Regions from separate parts of the Homo sapiens genome. Here region 2 is linked to region 1. The links are contacts of gene promoters, found by promoter capture Hi-C in human tissues and cell types (Jung and others, 2019). All regions are on one chromosome and are shown on one strand. The core of a region is centred on a gene start or on the middle of the fragment in contact, and the rest is flanking DNA. Distances in the headings are between cores, read along the strand shown.

Region 1 (5,464 bases), core at 2,640-5,139:
CTGCATAAGGGCCGCTTGAGGGCTCCTTGGTCAAGCGGTAATGCCAGTGTCTGGGAAGGCACCCGTTACCTAGCAGACCGTGAAAGGGAGTCTCCTTTCCTTGGAGGAGTCAGGAAACACTCTGCTCCACCAGCTTCCTGTGGGAGGCTGGATATTATCCAGGCCGGCCCGCAGTCATCCGGAGGCCTAAACCCCTCCCTGTGGGGCTGTGCTTCAATGGTCACGCTCCTTGTCCACTTTTATGTTCCTTCCATACTCCTGGTTTCTCTTTGAAGTTCATAGTAGATAGTGGTAGAAGAAACAGTGAAAGTCTTAAAGTCTTTGATCTTTCTGATAAGTGCATAGAAGAAAATGCTGACGTATGCTGCCTTCCCTCTCTGCTTTGGCTACCTAGAAGGGAAGGGCCCACTGGCCCACGATCATGTGACTTGCTTGATCTTATCAATCACTTGGACGACTCACCTTCCTTACCCTGCCCCCCTTGTTTTGTATGCAGTAAATATCAGCGTGCCCAGCCATTCTGGGCCACTACCGGTCTCCACGTCTTGGTGGTAGTGGTCCCCTGGGCCCAGCGGTTTTCTCTTTATCTCTTTGTCTTGTGTCTTTATTTCTTACAATCTCTTGTCTCCGCACATGGGGAGAACGCCCACCAAGCCCCGTAGGGCTGGATCCTACAGAAATGCCCACATTTACCTCAGGAGTGGCAGGAAGCAAAGGAGCCAGCCGAGCGGGCACAGAAAAAGAGGCAGGAGAGGTCAGGAGGGTGCTCCTGCAAATAGGCCCAGAGAGGAGCAAGCCCAAGGTACCGCTTAAGAGTTCAGTTCAAGCCCAGGCACGGTGGCTCATGCCTGTAATCCCAGCACTTTGGGAGGCTGAGGCGGGTGGATCACTGAGGTCAGGAGTTTGAGACCAGCCTGGCCAACATGGCAAAACCGTCTCTACTAAAAATATAAAAATTAGCCGGGCATGGTGGCGGGCACCTGTAATCCCAGCTACTAGGGAGGCTGAGGCTGGAGAATCACTTGAACCTGGGAGGCAGAGGTTGCAGTGAGCCAAGATCGTGTCATTGCATTCCAGCCTGGGCGACAGAGCAAGATTCCGTCTCAAATAAAAAAAAACAAAAAAAACCAAAAACAACTCAGTTTCTCAGTTTAAAGCCCCCAGCTCTGCCACGTCCTGGCTATATTCATCTCTCTGGAACTCACAGGCCTCACCTCAACATGGGGACAGTAAAGCGTCTTCTCAAAGGTTGCTGGAAGGAACTGGAAAGATGATGCATGTAAAGTAAGCTGATGGGACAATGCTCAATAGAGCCTCCTTTTTTTTTTTTTTGAGATGGAGTTTCGCTCTGTTGCCCAGGCTGGAGTGCAGGGTGATCTCGGCTCACTGCAACCTCCACCCCCTGGGTTCAAGCGATTCTCCTGCCTCAGTCTCCCAAGTAGCTGGGATTACAGGCATGTACCACTATGCTCAGCTAATTTTTGTATTTTTAGTAGAGATGGGGCTTCACCATGTTGGGCAGACTGGTCAAACTCCTGACCTCAGGTGATCCACTCACCTTAGCCTCCCAAAGTGCTGGGATTATAGGCGTGAGTCACTGTGCCGGGTCGAGCGTTGTTTTTAAAAATGGAAGGAATGGAAGCTGGGCATGGTGGCTCATGCCTGTAATCCCAGCACTTTGGGAGGCCGAGGCGGGCAGGTTGCTTTGAGCTCACGAGTTTGAGACCAGCCTGGGCAACATGGCGAAAATTTGTCTCTACTGAAAATACAAAAAAATTAGCCAGGCGTCATGGCACACAACTGTGGTTCCAGCTATTTGGGACGCTGAGGCAAGAGGATGGGTTGGGCCTGGGAGGCAGAGGTTACAGTGAGCCCAGATCGCACCATTGCACTCCAGCCCGGGCGACAGAGTGCGACTGTGTCTCAAAAAAAAAAAAAAAAAAAAAAGAGAAGGAATGAATTAGCATGAATGAGAAAGGCATGATCTGCAGTGAGTTACCGCATGGTCAAAGACAGTGGATACCAACCCACTTGCAGAGAGAAGCTCAATCAGCCCAGTGCTTTTGGCAAACTATGGCTGCCACCCCGTCATCGTCATCTGAGCTCACTGTGAGTTGCCCTTCAGGCCCTGCCTCTGACCCTGCCATCTCTGGAGAGCCCTCTTTGCAAGCCCAAGCCTGGGCTCCCCATCTCAGAACCATGTGCATACTTGTCCTGGAATTATTTTTTTGCCTGTGGCTCCTGGAGGGCAGGGGGCTATCTGGCATACACCTGCATTGCAGCAGTTGCTAAATCAATGAACAAATACCAAGTCTTTCCCGATCTAACTTCTTTTTTGTTTTTGAGACTTGTCTAGCTCTGTTGTCCAGGCTGGAGTGCAGTGGTGCAATCTCGGCTTACTGCAACCTCCACCTTCCGGGTTCAAGCAATTCTCCTGCCTCAGCCTCCTGAGTAGTTGGGATTACAGGCCTGCACCACCACGCTCGGCTGATTTTTTTGTATTTTTAGTAGAGACAGGGTTTCATCATGTTGGGCAGGCTGGTCTTGAACTCCTGACCTCAAATGATCTGCCCGCCTCAGCCTCCCAAAGTGCTGGGATTACAGGTGTGAGCCACTGCACCCGGCCCTCACGATCTACCTTAAGAGTGGTGGTAGTTGTAGTGGCAACTCCATCTGGGGGATGAGAGAAGGAGTAGGCTGCGTTTTGGGGGTGGCTTGCCAGCGAAGAGGAGAGACTATTAGCAACGAAAGGAGTGGCCAGGGTGAACGCCAAGCATTTTCCTGACTGGGGAGCTATGGGTTTGTTTAAAGGCAGGGCTGGGTGAGGGGTGAAAAGAGCGAGGAGGAGAGATGGCTGGTGCTGGACTGGAGTGAAAGGCATCTGAGGAGCCAGGAGACAGGATGGGGAGGGAGAGGAGTTAGCCTAGGACAGGACAGGATAACACTTCTTTGAAGACTGGCGGGCATGAGGAAAGGAAGGGGAGGGATTCGGGAATGACCTGGCGGTTCTCAGTCGACTGGGAGAAGATATGGAAGAGGGCCAAGCGGGGATTGGCTGCTGTTGGGATGGGGAGTGGGGCCGGGAGCGCACAAGGGAAGGTCGAGGATGGGAAAGGGGGTGTGGGGGAAGAAATACTCACAGGGGATCGGAAGGCCCCGCGGCAACTTCGGGTAAGTCTTGGTTCAGTCCTAGAGAGGAATCCGAGGGGAAAGTCTGATTGGACCCACAGCCCGCTGTGAGGACGGGGTACTGTGGGGATGCGGGAGGAGGAGCAGTTGGGAAGTAGGAGCGCCAGGGACTGGATCCATCTGGAAAGGGGGCAGACACGCTCTCAGGATCAGGGTAGAGACCCTCTAGGAAGGGGGCGTTCTGAGACGGGGGTTGTCTGGAGCACTGGATGGGAGTCTTTGGAGGTGATTTCTGGGAAGGGAGAGTCTGGGGCAGGGCTGTGAGGAGTCAGGAAAGAAACTGTGGAGTCCGTTCCTCGCCCACCTCCTGAGCCCTGGGGTCCGAGGCCCCCGGATCAGGGGGTTCAATGGCGCAAGAGGGTCCAGCGCGGGAGTCGGAGAGCGACCTCTCAGGTGCACCGGGCCAGGAACTCTGACCCGGAGTGTGAACTGGCGCACAGAAAGCTGCGCGCGCACCCAAGGAAAGCCGGCCCCGCCCCTCTCCCGAGGTGGGCGGGGACAGCGGTTGCGTGCGCAGCTTTTGTTGTGACGCCACAGGTCCCTCTGGCCACGCCGCTGCATAGCCACGCCCCCTTCCGCTTCATATTTCTCATTGACCAATGGGCTTTGATCTTTGAGGCCACGCCCCCATTCTGCGCTCCAGTATCGCCCTGGTTACGCCTCCTCTGGCTCCGTCGCACAGCTGCGCGGTGGCTGACTGACTTCCGCAGTGGTTGCCGGGATCGCGCTGATGTGGCCCCAACCCCGCCTCCCTCCCCGCCCCGCGATGTCGGAAGAAACCCGACAGAGCAAATTGGCCGCAGCGAAGAAAAAGGTAAAGTGCACCGGGTCGCGGCCCCCCGACCCAGCCCCAGCCCCACTCCGATGGCAGGACCATGGCCAGAGTCTCTGCCACTCCTGAGGCACACCGGGCTGGGCTCCCCACGGCGCGTCCGGGCTCCCTCCACCAAAGTCTTGTCAGCCAGCCCCGCCCCCTCAGCCGCCCAGCCCCCGCCCTCGCCAGTCGCCCCCGGGTGACTTTGGGCTGGTGCTCCCGGGGCTCCCCGCTCCAGACTCGGCCCTCACCTCCTGCCCCCCGAAGTCCGACCTCCCTGGGCTCTTTGGGCTGGCGTCTCCAAGGACCTAGGACCCCAGCAATTCAGCCCCTGCCCTCGCCAGTGACTTTGGGCCCGTGACTCCCGGGGCCCCCCGCTCCAGACTCGACCCTCACCTCCTGCCGCCCCAAACCGGACCTCCCGGGGTTCTTTGGTCTCGGGTCTCCAAGGACCTGGGTCCTGGCCCTGCGGTCCCCTCCCCCATCGCGGAGCGGCGACTTGGACGTCGCGCTGATGTTCCCCCTAGGAGTGGAATGTAGTGACGTCACAATCCCCCTCGGAACCGTAATTAGTTGCGCGAGACCAGTCTTTGATCTTAGGACCCAGTCCCCTAAGTGTTCTCATCCCGCTTCTGGTTCCTCTGGTCACAGCATAAATTTCCAGCTGGAAGGGGATTGGGGACTATGGGACCTAGGAGGGAGAGGTTTCAGGCTGCCTTACACCCTTAACATAGACATTGACAGTGTGAAAAGCCTACACTTCACCCGTGAACTGAAAACATTGGCAGTATCTCTGGGTGGCAATGTGAGAACGGGATTGGTTTGGTTTTCCCCCAGGCTTCTACTCTCCAGAGAGACTTTAACATTTTTTTCTGACTTCTCCACCTCATATTCGAATTCTCCATGGTTCTGGGACCAGAGTGCCCTTCAGTGGTCTCTGGAATGAGATCTGCTTATCTTCTGTGGAACAGGTCTTGGGAAACTGAACTTGACAGCTTGAATCTTCCTCATATCATCTCAACCTGGGGTACTTGGAGTGCCACAGGATAAATACGGGGCATCTTTCTGAAGCATCAGTCTCCCTTTATTCTCTTGAGAGAGAAAAAACATTAATGTACTTAGGGATGACAGTCACATAAATTTCTAAGAGTATACCAGACTTTTCTCTGAAATGAGGCTTGGGTTGTCCTCTTTCTGTTAAATTCCCAGGTTCAACAGAAAGGCTGCCTTCTGCCATGTGGATACATTGATGTAAAAGTTTGAGAGGCATTGGTGCATTTCTTAACATTACCAAACGTGTGAGGATGTATGACTCTAAACCACACAGTGTACAGTTCCTGCCGACTTAATGTTCCGGCCCACATTTTAAGATACATATTTATTTTTAGAGAGGGGGTGTCACTGTGTTGCCCAGTCTGACCTTGAACTCCTGGCCTTAAGTAATCCTCCTGCCTTAGCCTC
Region 2 (5,088 bases), core at 956-3,455, 620 kb before region 1:
AAAAATACAAAAAAATTAGCTGGGCCTGGTGGCACATGCCTGTAGTCCCAGCTACTCAGGAGGCTGAGGCAGGAGAATCCCTTGAACTCAGGGGGCGGAGGTTGCGGTGAGCAGACATCGTACCACTGCACTCCAGCATGGGTGACAGAGCAAGACTCTGGCTCAAAGAAAAAAATAAAGAAAGAAAGAAAAAAGAAAAGATTAGTATCCAGAATAAATACAGAAATCCTGCATAAATAAGACAAAAACAATCCAATGAGGGGAAATGGCAAAATATACGCATAGGCAATTCACAGGGGAAAAATGCAAATGGAACCAATGTATGAAATAATTCTTAGCCTTGCTAGTAATCAAGGAATGTAAATTAAAACGATCACATATCACTTCACTCCCCCAATTGGCAAAAACTGTGAACTCTTAGAGAAGGTAGGATGCACGTACTCTACAACCCAGCAACTCCTCTCCTCATTATTTATGCATCTTAGAAAGCTGCTCCACACATAAGTGAGAAACCACACACAAGGATGCTCACTGAAGAATTGTTTGTAATAGCAAAAAATCAGAAATGACCCACATGTTCATCAACAGGAGAAAGGATACGTTGTTCTAATCATACAATGGAAATGCTTTAAATCAATTAAAGTTAATGAACTGTAGCAACATGTATCAATGTGGATAAACCTCAAAAGCAATGTTGATCCAAAAAACAAGTTGTAGATGATGCATATGTTATATAAGGTTTTCTACAAGGTGTATACCCAAGTATACCGAAGATACAAAAGCATGCATGGAAAGTCTCCAAACCAAGATAATGATTGTATCTAGGGAGGGAAGAAAATGGGGAAGGGACTTCAACTGTGCTTGGAATATTTTACTTAAGTGCCTGCGCACATTCAAGTGTGTGCGTGCGTGCATGTGTGTATCTGAAACAATTACTGCAAAACACTGAAGTCTGACAAAGCTGAGTTCTTGATATGGATGTATCTGTTCTAGTTTTTATACTTTTCTTAAACCATTTCATCACACAAAACTCACTGAAACACTCATGCATTCCTACCCTGCATAGCCAGTGCTCTCCCCAACCTCCCACAGGCGAAGGCTCAGCGGGGAGCAGCAGCTACTGCATCTTACCAGGTTACCGGAGCAGCAGAGGCAGCTCCTCCTACCAGCTGCTGCTCCTCAGCCCCTGAGGACCCTGCAGAACTCGTAAGCACTCCCTACCTGGTCCTGCCCTGCCCCCAGGGAGATGTAGAAGTGGGCATCATGCAGAACAGGCCCTTCCCACAAGGCAGCTCAAGCAGGTGCCTAGGACAAATGGGACCAGGTTCCTGGCCAGGGCCAGGGCATCTCTGTGCCTGGGGGTTAAATGAGTAACCCAGAGAGCCCCAGCCTTCCCTCAGGCACAGGTGGATCTCAGGGAGCAGAGAGAGCAAGGACTTGGAGTTTGGGACATGTAGGTTCAAATCCAGCTCCAGCAAGAAATAATTCTGTGACCCCAGGCAAATTGTTTAGCCTAAGCCTCTGCTTTTACAACTTATTTTATTTTATCTTGGAGACAGTCTTGCTTTGCTCCGTGGCCCAGGCTGGAGTGCAGTGGCACGGTCTTGGCTCACTGCAACCTCCACCTCCCGGGTTCAAGTGATTCTCCTACCTCAGCCTCCCGAGCTTCTACAACTTTAAATCAGGAATAACGCCACCTTCCTTGTAGATGTGTATGCAGTGACCCCAGAGACATCTAAGAGATATTAAGCATAAAAGAATTTTGCTGAGCAGTATATAAAATGTGTTATCTGCGAAAGAAGCCAGTCATAAAAGGCAAATACTTTGATTTCACTTATTCACATAAGTGAATAGACAGAAAACAGAAGGGATACCAGGGCCTGGGGGAGCAGGAAATGGGGAGTGAGCGTTTAATGGGTGCAGAGAGTTTCAGTTTTGCAAGATGAAAACAGTTCTGGAGATGGGTGGTAGTGATGGATACACAATATGAATGTACTTAATACCATTGAAGTGTACACTTACAAATGGTTAAGGTGGTAAATTTTATGTCATGTGTATTTTACCACAATGAAAAAAATTAGGAAATATGATATCTTTTTTTTTTTTTTTTTGAGGTAGAGTCTCACTCTGTTGCCAAGGCTGGAGTACAGTGGTGTGGTCTTGGCTCACTGCAAACTCTACCTCCTGGGTTCAAGCGATTCTCCTGCCTCAGCCTCCCAAGTAGCTGGGACTACAGGTGTGTGCCACCACTCCTGGCTAATTTTTGTATTTTTACTAGAGATGGGGTTTTGCCATGTTGGCCAGGGTGGTCTCAAACTCCTGACCTCAAGTGATTCACCTGCCTTGGTGTCCCAAAGTGCTGGGATTACAGGTGTCAGCCACTGTACCTGGTCTGTTACTGGTATAATTTTTTTTTTTTTGAGATGGAGTCTCACTCTGTTGCCCAGGCTGGAGTGCAGTGGCATGATCTCTGCTCACTGCAAGCTCTGCCTCCCAGGTTCACGCCATTCTCCTGCCTCAGCCTCCCAAGTAGCTGGGACTATAGGCACCCACCACAATGCCCGGCAAATTTTTTTGTATTTTTAGTACAGACGGGGTTTCATCGTGTTAACCAGGATGATCTCGATCTACTGACCTTGTGATCTGCCTGCCTCAGCCTCCCAAAGTGCTGGGATTACAGGTGTGAGCCACCATGCCTGGCAATTTTTTAAAACAAGAATGATGGCTGGGCACGGTGGCTCACGCCTGTAATCCTAGCACTTTGGGAGGCCGAGGTGGGTGGATTACTTGAGGTCAGGAGTTTGAGACCAGCCTGGCCAACATGGCGAAACCCCGTCTCTACTAAAAATACAAAAAAATTAGCTGGGCGTGGTAGCACACAACTGTAGTCCCAGCTACTCAGCAGGCTGAGGCAGGAGAATCACTTGAACCCGGGAGGCGCAGGTTGCAGTGGGCCGAATCTGTGCTGCTGTACTCCTGCCTGGGTGACAGAGTGAGACTCTGTCTCAAAAAATAAAATTATATCAATAACAAACTCATTACTGTGTACAGAAAAGAATTTAGAAAGCTATGCACAGAACTATATATAGTTAAGTCTACTCGTGGTGAGACTGTAGAGGGCTGTCTATATTATACATTCTTCCATTATTTAAATCTGGTATGTTTATGAGTAGAAAAACTGCTTGGAAATAAATCAAAAGACCTTCCTCACTGTGTGGTTTCTCAGGATGATAAAAGAATTTATGCGTAGCTGCCATCCGTACATTAGAAACAGGTCAGCCTCATCCTCCCTGCCCTGCCTCGTAACACTCACGCTCAGCAGCTTGCGGTCCTCACCTCCTGGGAGCAGAGCAGGGAGGAGTTCAGACCCCAGAGTTGGGCAACTCAAACGCCAACCCCACTACTGCCTCACTGGGGCCTCAGAGCCTCTGTGTCCTCAACTGCAAGATGGAAATATTACATCCTAAAATGGGTTATAGCTGTGAAATGGGTTATCGTGAGAATTAAAAGTAAGGCATCATGTGTCAATACAGCACCGGGCACACTCAGGCTGTCGTTCCACGGTCCCACCTGCCATCGCAGATGACCCTCCCAGAATTCAGTGGGGACTGACCTGGGTGAGGGCGGAGCCTCAAGCACCATGTCTCTGAGCAGGGCCAGACCACTCAGAGACCCACAGGACCCCCCAGGACTCGCAGAACCTCGAAAACTCGCAGACCACTCAGAGACCCTCCCAGGCTCAGGACCCCGTGTGGCAGAGTTGGCCATCTGCTCTCAGAGCCAGTCATTAGGTTCAGCCCCAGTCCACATCCCCTGGATGCTTCTCGAAGACAGGGAGTCAAGAAATGACAAGCTGCCCACTCTGTCCCAGAGAGAGACCCCCCCAGCACGCACCAGACCCCATGTGGGCCCACAGGGATTTGGCGTGGCTCCCACACCTGGGCGGCAGGCAGTCGGGCTGCGGGTAAACAGGGCACAGAGAGCCTTTTGTGAAAGCACAAACAAGGCTGAGCCAGGAAAACTTCCCAAGCAGGAGGGGAGGCGGGAGGTTGGCACCCCTCCTGTACCAGAGATGGGAAGGCTGGCCCTCCAGTGCTCTCCCAGGGAGCGCGAAGGGGCCGCTCTCAACAGGCCCTGTCCCGGGAGGGTTCCAAGCCTGTGGATCTGCTCCCACCACGGGCCATGGGTCATGTGCTTCCCCTGTCCCAGAGCCAGAGTGGGAGGAGAGGTCTCAGCCTCGTCTGGCACACACAGCCTCCACCCTCCCCAGGGCGGACACTGCCCTGGAGGCCCCCACACCCAGCTGGGGTGAGTCAGAGGCTGCTGGCTGGGGGTGTTGCCTGGCTTGGGACTCGCCCTGTGTAGAAGGGTACACCCTCACTTCCTGGGGAGAGGAAGAGGGGAGACGCCAGGGCTGGAGGGGGAGGGGAGCACGGGTCAGTTCCAAACTGCTCTCACCTGGGCTGGGCTCCCAAACAGGTTCATCCTCACACCAACTTGCAAGGGCGTGGCCCGCCTTCTAGGGTGAAAGGCAACAGGTGAGGGACACCCACCTGGGCTTCCCCCAGCAGCTCCGGAGCCAAGCAGAGAGAGGCAGCAGGTGGGGCTGGAGGTGCAGCCTCAGGACCTGCCCTCGCCCTGCCAGGCTGGGGCAGGAGCGCCCAGTTACTGACCGTCAACTAAGTGCCCAGTATGTCCTTGCCCCATCTCCCAACCTTCATGCATAGCAGCAAGGTGGCACCCACCTCACCACGAGACCGTGAGAAAGTCCCTTCACCTCGCTGGGCTCTGGTTTCCTCATCTGTAAAATGGGTTGACAAGTCTATTGCTTGGAGGGCTGTGATGAGGACAGAAGGAGACAGTCCATATAAAGCTTTTGGACTAGTGCCTGCCATACAGTAAGGCTCTGGAACGTTCACTGCTGTTATTATTATGGTAGAGTTTAAATCAGTCCTTTTATGGGTGTGATGTCGGAGGCCCAGAGAAGTTTGGTAACCTGCCCAAGGCCACACAGCTAGGAAGAGCTGGGAAGATGCACCCCAAGCCCGACTTTCCATTGTGCCAACCTGCCTCAAAGACAAGCAGGCC

The links. Contacts are between HindIII fragments. The study calls those that stand out against the background at their distance.
Region 2: a contact is called between a fragment that was not itself captured here and the fragment with the promoter of GOLGA2 in region 1, in 1 of the 25 tissues and cell types used here (dorsolateral prefrontal cortex).

The regions. Positions count from the first base shown.
Region 1 is chr9:128,274,432-128,279,895 of GRCh38, reverse strand. GOLGA2 (golgin A2) reads left to right here and starts at 3,889. Exons shown (of 27, transcript NM_001366244.2): 1 at 3,889-4,003. The coding sequence starts at 3,920. SWI5 (SWI5 homologous recombination repair protein) reads right to left here and starts at 3,620. Exons shown (of 5, transcript NM_001318089.2): 1 at 3,494-3,620; 2 at 3,141-3,189. The coding sequence starts at 3,555. RefSeq lists enhancers at 3,386-3,515, 4,376-4,425 and a silencer at 4,116-4,225. The HindIII fragment of the contact is 26,420 bases long and covers 1-5,464 here.
Region 2 is chr9:128,891,816-128,896,903 of GRCh38, reverse strand. The region is part of intron 2 of LRRC8A (leucine rich repeat containing 8 VRAC subunit A); the gene reads right to left. Among named protein-coding and RNA genes, the nearest start is that of LRRC8A, 12 kb to the right of the region's middle. RefSeq lists an enhancer at 4,053-4,660. The HindIII fragment of the contact is 8,143 bases long and covers 1-5,088 here.